Regions from separate parts of the Homo sapiens genome. Here regions 2 and 3 are each linked to region 1. Evidence: promoter capture Hi-C in 16 types of primary human blood cells and fetal thymus (Javierre and others, 2016). All regions are on one chromosome and are shown on one strand. The core of a region is centred on a gene start or on the middle of the fragment in contact, and the rest is flanking DNA. Distances in the headings are between cores, read along the strand shown.

Region 1 (2,802 bases), core at 100-2,599:
GAGGAAAATCTTAAAAACATTTGGTTCTTAGGAATCCCCTCTTTACACGCATATTTTATTAAAGTGTAACAGATTAAAAGGTGCTCTAGCCAGGGCAAACCAGGTAAGTGGTTTCCAAAACTCACGTTGATTTAAAAGTTCTTGCACCCCTCCAAATTTCTTCTTAAAGAGGACAGCTATCCCAGCGCCCATGCGACAATCCTCACTGATACAGTGGGCTAAAGAGTCTGTTTTCGGGCATGCAAAAAGGTCTCCTTTCACATAAGTGATCTAAAAAATGTGCAAAGGAAAAGACAATGTTTTATTAGATACAGTAAAATACTAAGCTATTTTTCTGTATTTTGTGTCCCCCACGACTACCTCTCCCGGCACCCCTTCCTCCAATCTGATTTAAAGCCAAACCAATTACAGCATGTGTAAAAGGAAAGTAATGGATGATCCCTGCCTAGAATTTTGAGCCTTTTTAAAGTAAATCAGCTAGAGAGAAAAAAAGATAATGCAATCATTAATTTAATTAAAAAGTGTTTATGCTTTTGACCTCCATTATTACGAATTTCAGTTCACCAATAAGTCAATAGTTGTTACGCACTCTGCTTCCTTCTGGATCTTCATTAAGGCTGCTGGCCATGATACTGAGTCGCTATTTCCAGAATTTAAGTGTTTCTTCAGCTATGAGAAGGGAAAAGGAAGTAAAAATGCTTAGGCAGCCTTAGTATATAATATTCTGATTGCCCTGTACAACCACTTAATAGGCTTTTTTCCCCAACGTTTATCGATGAATGTGAGTTTGTTCGGCCCCTGGGACGTAATACAAAACCCTTCTGGGGCAAAGAGGAAGAACGCTTAGGTTCGGAGGCTGTCTCGACCCGCTCTCATTTCGTGCTTTCCTGGAGCGCCCCGCTCCGTCAGCGGAAGCAAAGCCCATCCCTAAGACACGCCTCCTCCTTTCTCCAGGGCCACTCCGGAGCAAGGCCGATTTAGGACGGTCTCCTTTTCTCTGCACGACGCAAAAGTATTTCCCCAGTGGGTCTGGCTTAGAAGAAAACAGAAGGGACTTGGCCACAGTCCCGTTAAGCCGCAACCACAGAGTGTACAGGGTACTGGCGTGCTGAGCCCCAGGCGTGGGGAAAGGAAGGCGGCCTCTCAAGGAACGTTCACCCCCCACTTTTTTGGGGGGTGCGTGGGAGAAGGAAAGAGTCTATTGAAGCCTCCCATTCTCTGTCTCCTACCCTAGGGCGGGTCAGCGAGGACGCAGTCTGTCCTGGGGTCCTATGGGAGGGTGCGGGGAGGCTCGCTCAAAGCCCCAACGTACCCAAGTCACCCTTCACCTGGAAAGGAGTCGGTTGTTTGGAGGTCCCCGCCCCGCGGGGAAGGGCTCCGGATCCGACCCTGGTAGGTGGGGAGCAGCGGACCAGCCCAAACGCGGAGCCAATCCCGCCAAAGCCCTTAATTGCACGCATCTAAGATGGCCGCCCCCGCCCGGTAGCGGGGCGGAAACGAGCCCCTCTAGCTTGCTAGCCGAGCCCACACTCTTTGGCGAAGGCCGCCGAACTTCCGGCAGTAAATTCCGTGGTTTCCCGCCGCCGCCCGCGCATGCGTAACGAAACTGCCCCACGAGTCGGGAAAAGTGGCGCTTGCGCATTAGCCGCAGGGGTGTGTCCTAGTGGCCACTTGGAAAGGGGTGGGCAGCTGGCAAAGGGGCTAGTTAGCGCCTGCGTAGTACTAAGCTCAAGGCAGCGTTTTGAGTTGAAGGGTCTGGCGCGTCTGGAAAGCGCCTGCGTATTCCTTTCACTGGGGGTGGTGTCAAAGCGGGAAGGTGGGCGTGGCTTCAGGGAACGCCTGCGCGTTGCTCCTCCGAAGGGGTGGGGCGATCCCTGAACTGGAGTTAGTGGGCGTGGCCTCAGAGGCGCCTGCGCGGAGGCGGTTGGAGGGAGGCCCGATTCCCCTTTGTTCGGGTTCGCCATTTTGCTAGGCAGCGGCAGTGGCGGCGGCAGCGGCGGCTGGAGCCTCTGATTGGGTTTCGGAGTCCGGTACTGGAGCCAATCAGCGCGGGCAGCGAACCGGGGGAGCGAGGCACGGTGAGTGTGAGGAGCCAATATCCAGCGGCCCAGAGCCGGCCCCAGCGCCCCGATTGGCGGGTCTCGCTGACCACTCAGGAGAGGCCCAGGCGCCCGTCGAGCCCGGGGAGTCGAGCTGAGCCTAGCCGAGCCGGGCGGCCAGCGGCCCCGGCCCGGGGCCTGCGAGCGCCTCGGGGCACTCCCGGCCGAGGCCTGCAGGGGCCGCCCCGCGCGGGGATGGCGCCTCGGGGAGCAGGCACCTCGGGGCTCCGACCCTCGCAGGGTGCCAGGGCCAGTTGGGAATGCGTCCCTGTTCCCCGACTCAGGCCCAGGTTCTCAGGCCCCAGGCCTGGGGCCACGAATGGCCCTACACTAGGGGACACATGCGCGCCCTGGGCCTCGGCGATTTCCTCCTGGTCGTTCTGGCCGCAAACTTAAACCTGCCCTTGCACTCTCCACTCTCCGGCCCTTGGGACAGGAAGCCTCCCCGGGGCCCGCGCCCCCCGCTCCCCGCTCCCAGCGAGCCGGGTCTGTCTTATCTGCAGCCCCTCTAGGTCGGGAGGGAGGCCTGGGGAGGGTGCGCGCCGCGGCCGCGGGGTCCCGTGTGCGGCTGGCAACGGGGCTGGCCCGCCCACGCCTCGGAGCCCTATGGGCCCGCCCCCGCTGTCTCCCTGGTGGGGAGAGGGGGCCGTTAGTTCGCCCACTCCCCCTGCTCCGCCGCGCCCCTCCTCCCAGCCCGCTCCGC
Region 2 (2,802 bases), core at 140-2,639, 2.5 Mb after region 1:
GAGAAGATCACTTGAGCCCAGGAGTTCGAGGCTGCAGTGAGCTATGATCATGCTAATGCAATCCAGCCGGAGCAACAGAGACTCTGTCTCAAAAAAAAAAAAAAGTCATATTCTAATACTTGAAACAAATTCATTCTGCATACTTAAAATTCTGCATGTTTTTCATCATTAGTATCACATAGTAGTTGTTTGGAATAAAAGAAAATAGTGTTTCAATCTAATTTAGATCTAAGAATCTTATTGATTTGTTGAAAATATTTAATCCCCTCTGCCCTGTCTTTATAATTTAAAAAATAGAAGTCAATACATAAGCATGATTAATTAAACCTAGTAAGAGACATATGCTGAATTATGCTTTCTGCTTTTGTTTTGTTTTGTTTTTGAGATAGGGTCTTGCTCTGTTGCACAGGCTGGAGTGCCATGGCACCATCACAGCTCACTGCAGCCTGGACCTCCTGGGCTCAGAAAATCCTCCCACCTCAGCCTCCTGAGTAGCTGGGCCACAGGCATGCGCCACCACGCTCAGCTAATTTTTGCATTTTTGGTAGAGATGGGGTCTCACTGCATTGCCCAAGCTGCTCTCGAATTCTTAGATGCAGGTGATCCTCTTACCTTGGCTTCCCAAAGCGCTAGAATTACAGGTGTGAGTCACTGTGCCTGGCCTAAATTATGATTTCTTGTGCTGTCTGACCTATTTAGAAGCAGTGAATTTTTACACAAACTCCCTATTGAAGAAGTCACGCTTTGCCTAAACTACCTTGGAAACATGTCTCCCAACCACCCATTCCTTACATTTGCAATCAGCTCCATGACACTGTTCTTCAGATACACCTTCTCCAATCGAGACATGCCGTTCCACCGAAACCTGACCACCAAAATGCATAAAGTCAATAGAACCACTTTAGAAGTCTTGTCTTTACAAGAGAATAGCATGGATTTCTACATTTGATTACACTGGAGATTTCATTAAGAAATTATACTTTTGATTTTGTACCTGTCAATGAATGGGCAAAAATGATCTACATTTAACCAAAATACTAACACAAAAATTCTTGGGAAAAGGTTTTATATATGCAGTGGTCCATTAACTGGAATCCGCACAAGATTTGTACCACACGTCAGCTTTGCCTCATGATTTTATTGATGGGCCAAAAGTGAATATACATCTAGGTCAACTGCAACAATGTACTTGCTTTTCAGAAAATGCAGTTTTGACATCAGTCATTTTCTGTGCTGGCTTACAAAACAATTCTGGAAAAACTATGGCTAAGTCTTAAAGGCTACCTCTTCTGATAGGTGTTGAGGGTAGGACAATCAAGTTAGGATGGGTTTTCAGTTATTCTCATACAATCCTGCTTTGGATGTACCACCCAGAGAAGGCACACAAACTCAGAAAGACAGAGAGAAAAAAGAAAGCCACAGTGCCTAATCAGAGATTCATTGACCTATACATTGCATTACTCTAAAAAGGCTTCGAGGGCTAATGACATATAGTCAGAGCTCAGTAAGTATTGGCTAAATGGCAGGTAATATTTGTTGAATGGGTAATATGTACCACACACTTTACATGGATGAAGAAACTGAAGAAAAGAAAGGTTAAATCTTGAATGAGAGCTCCTGTGAGGTTCTGATAACATCTAGGGGATCATTCCTCTCTTCTTGGAGATTGCTCTTCTCTACTCACCTAAACAGCATCTCTATAGGTTATATAAGATATAAAGATCTGTTCTCTCAGACTTCAGTGGTAATGTCCAAGAGCTCCTTACTTGACAACGTGTTCCAGGATCTGAAGGCCAAAATGTCTGACGATGGCAACTTGTGTTTTCTCAGCCAACCTCAAGCCACAGGGGACACAGATAGGACACTTTTCTTTAAACTCCTCACAAAACTGAAAGAAGAAAAGTTAGTGTTTCCTTTCGAGGGCTGAGAGAATAGGGACTAAAAGAATTTCATCTTAAGAAACTCCAACCAGGGCCGGGTGCGGTGGCTCACACCTGTCCCAGCACTCTGGGAGGCTGAGATGGGTGGACTACTTGAGTCTAGGAGTCTGAGACTAGCCTAGGCAACATGGCGAAACCCCATCTCTATTAAATATATATATATATATATATTTTTTTTTTTTTTTTTTGAGACGGAGTCTCACTCTGTCGCCCAGGCTGGAATGCAATGGCATGATCTCGGCTCACTGCAACCTCTGCTTCCCAGGTTCAAGCAGTTCTCCTGCCTCAGCCTCCTGAGCCCATGTAGCTGGGACTACAAGTGCACGCCACCACACCCAGCTAATTTTTGTATTTTTAGTAGAAACAAGGTTTCATCATGTTGACCAGGCTGGTCTTGAACTCCTGACCTCAGGTGACCCACCTGCCTTGGCCTCCCAAAGTGCTGGGATTACAGGCGTGAGCCACTGTGCCCGGCCCACTAAAAATATTTTTTTAAATTAGCCGGGCATGGTGGCAGGTGCCTGTAATCCCAGCTACTCAGGAGGCTGAAGTGGTAGGAGAATCACTTGAGCTCGAGAAATCAAGGCTGAAGTGAGCCGAGATCTCACCACTGCACGCCAGCCTGGACAACCAGAGTGAGACCCTACTCAAAAAGAAACTCCAACCTAAGCTATATGTTTAAAGTTGCAAAACCTAGATCAATATTATGTGGATCTCCAAGCACAGTTGCTTTAAAAATATATATTTAATATAAAAATAAAAATATAAAATATATAAAAGTTACACATATATAACATTTCCTCCAAGTGGTGTTCACTCTATTTTATGTGTATATATTATATATATATTATGAATAAAGAAC
Region 3 (2,802 bases), core at 111-2,610, 2.4 Mb before region 1:
TATGTTATATTATGTGGCAAAAGGGACTTTGCAGATATGATTAAATGATGTATCTAGGGAGATTATCCTGGATTGTCTGACTGGGCTGGAGGCAGGAGGGTCAGAGTCAGAGAAGGAGATGTGATGATGGAAGCAGAGGTCAGACAGAGATTTGAAGATGCTATACTGTTGGCTTTGAAGATGGACCCAAGAAACGCAAGCAAATTGTAGATGCGGGAGAAGGCAAGGAAATGGATTCTTCTCTAGCACCCTAAGAACACAGCCCTGCCAACACCTTGATTTTAGGACTTCTGACTTCTAGAACTGCGAGATAAGAAACTTGTATGTTTTAAGGTACCAAGTTTGTGCTAACTTGTTACAACAGCAATAGGAAACTGATACAGTCAGTAATAAAGATAATAGTTGGTTTCCTGCAGCTTTCTCCATTACCTGGAAAAGAAGGGTACAATTCAGTAGGTCCCCTCAGAGACTATAGCAATATGACTGTGACCTGATGGAACCTCCACATCTAGAGAAAAATGTCCAATAAACACTCAAACTGTACAGGTCTATGAATGAGGAAAGAGGTTGAGTTAAAATAGATTTGGAAGAAATAAATTAATAATTGGTAATTTAAGCCCGAGGCATGGATGAGATCAATCAGGGAGAAAATACAGAAGACATAATAAGGAGAGGCAAGGATAGGGCCCCTGGAGAGCACTAACTTTAAAAGGAGGTGCAGATGATCAGAAGCCCAAAAAGAAGTCTGAGGAAGAATGGCCAGAGAGAGAAAAGGAGAACTAGGTGAGCCTAATGCCTCTGAAGCCAAGCAAGCAAGATGGAGAGGGGTCAACAGAGTCAGAGACCACAAAAAGGCCAAGTATATCAAGAACTGGAAAGCATTCACTGGATTTAGCAACAGAAAAGTGATTGGTAACCAACAATAGCAAACTTCAGTGGGATAGTGGAGATAGATACCAAATCACTGAGATCTGAAAGGCAGATCAATATAGTGGATTGGCCTCTAGACTAGTTTGATGGGAGTTTTGAGATTCTAGTCTTGATTCTGGCCATTAACTAGCTAGATAACTTTGAACAAATCCCTCAACTACTCCAGGCTTTGGTTTTCGCATCTGGCAAAGGATGAGATCAAGCTGAGTCTATGATTTTCTCATTAATTCCTAGATAATCCCCCCAGTTTTATTTTTTTATTTTTTGTCATATCTGATTCAATACTTTTATTTATTTTTATTTTTTATTTTTGAGACAGCATCTTGCTCTGTTGCCCAGTGTGGAGTGCAGTGGTACAATCTTGGCTCACTGCAGCCTCAACCCCCGGGCTCAATCACCCCAATTTCATATCAGACTCACTTGCTTATAACAGCACACTTCAAATCCTTCTCAGACCATTTTCCAACCACTAAGAATCAGTATATTTCATGCCAGCTTCTGTCCTAGATACTATGGCTATAACACAGTTTTCAAGGAACTCACAATTTGGAGAGAGAGAGAGAAATACTAAGTATGTAACTAGCTGTCATAGTTCTTTAAAAAAAAAAAAAGAAAAAAAAGTAAGGCCAGGCGCGGTGGCTTATGCCTGTAATCCTAGCACTTTGGGAGGCCGAGGCGGGTAGATCACCTGAGGTCAAGAGTTTGAGATCAGCCTGACCAATATGATGAAAACCCGTCTCTACTGAAAATACAAAAATTAGCCGGGCATGGTGGCATATGCCATCATCCCAGCTACTCAGGAGGCTGAGACAGGAGAATCACTTGAATCCGGGAGGCAGAGGTTGTGTAGAGCCAAGATCTCGCCATTGGACTCCAGCCTGGGCAACAAGAGCAAAACTCTGTCTCAAAAAAAAAATTAAAATAAGTAAATAAATAAAAATAAAAAATAATAAGATAGACCTGATTGTGGTGGCTCATGCCCCGTAATCCCAGTGCTTTGGAAGGCCAAAATGGGAAGATCACCTGAGGCCAGGAGTTTGAGACCAGCCTGGGCAATATAGCCAGACACCCATCTCTACAAAAATTTTCTAAAAATTAGCCAGGTGTGGTGGTGCGCACCTGCAGTTCTAACTACTTGGGAGGCTGAGGCAAGAGGATTGGGTGAGCCCAGGAGTTTGAGGTTACAGTGAGCTATTACCAGATTACAGTGAGCTATGACTGTGCCAGTGCACTTCAGCCTGGGCAACAGAGCAAGACCCTAAAAGCTAGATATAAATATATTGTAAGTATAATACAATATACTATAACAGAATCTGTATGAAGTGAAATGAGGGATATATAAAGTGATACAGATAAGGGCGCAGTTAGCTCTATCTAATGGAAGTCAAGAGTGTTGTACTTACCTACACTGTTAAGTAAACACAGTATGCCTCAAAAATGGACACAAATATATTAAGGCATTTCCATGGAGGTAAAAAAAGAACAGGAGAATTGTGCTAAACCAGCGTTGTCACCTAACATTCCTTCTAGGTAGTTTTGTTGTGATCTAAATGAATATTTATATATAACTGTTTCTAAACTAAAATTGGTTAGTTGTTAAAATGGACACAAATAAAAGTTAAATGCAAGAATAATTTATATTTTTCCAGTAGATTCAAGAGGAAATATTTTTTGTCACTAATGCCATGCTTTAATACATTTGCTTGTCTAATCCTCATGTATTATCTTACTTAATTTTGTAAACATTAGCTTATTGTATAGATCACTGACAAAGTATCTGTTTTAGCAGATAGGGACAAAGTTTAAATAATTTGGCCAAGGTCATAGTAGACCAAGATTTGGACCCAGCACAAGCATCCTCTTTCCAGGAAA

The links. Contacts are between HindIII fragments. The CHiCAGO score rates a contact against its expected background, and 5 or more counts as called.
Region 2: a contact is called between a fragment that was not itself captured here and the fragment with the promoter of OARD1 in region 1, in 1 of 17 cell types (neutrophils). The highest score is 5.1, in neutrophils.
Region 3: a contact is called between a fragment that was not itself captured here and the fragment with the promoter of OARD1 in region 1, in 1 of 17 cell types (non-activated CD4 T cells). The highest score is 7.6, in non-activated CD4 T cells.

What each region holds. Positions count from the first base shown.
Region 1 is chr6:41,071,007-41,073,808 of GRCh38, forward strand. OARD1 (O-acyl-ADP-ribose deacylase 1) reads right to left here and starts at 1,350. Exons shown (of 6, transcript NM_001329686.2): 1 at 1,230-1,350; 2 at 590-669; 3 at 126-270. The coding sequence starts at 628. It overlaps NFYA (nuclear transcription factor Y subunit alpha), which reads left to right and starts at 1,968. Exons shown (of 10, transcript NM_002505.5): 1 at 1,968-2,078. RefSeq lists enhancers at 1,369-1,578, 1,609-1,658 and silencers at 2,039-2,668, 2,699-2,802. The HindIII fragment of the contact is 4,776 bases long and covers 1-2,802 here.
Region 2 is chr6:43,571,714-43,574,515 of GRCh38, forward strand. It overlaps XPO5 (exportin 5), which reads right to left. Exons shown (of 32, transcript NM_020750.3): 2 at 1,767-1,888; 3 at 793-865. Among named protein-coding and RNA genes, the nearest start is that of XPO5, 2.9 kb to the right of the region's middle. The HindIII fragment of the contact is 3,844 bases long and covers 1-2,802 here.
Region 3 is chr6:38,641,810-38,644,611 of GRCh38, forward strand. The region is part of intron 1 of LOC105375044 (a long non-coding RNA gene); the gene reads left to right. Among named protein-coding and RNA genes, the nearest start is that of BTBD9, 3.3 kb to the left of the region's middle. The HindIII fragment of the contact is 4,394 bases long and covers 1-2,802 here.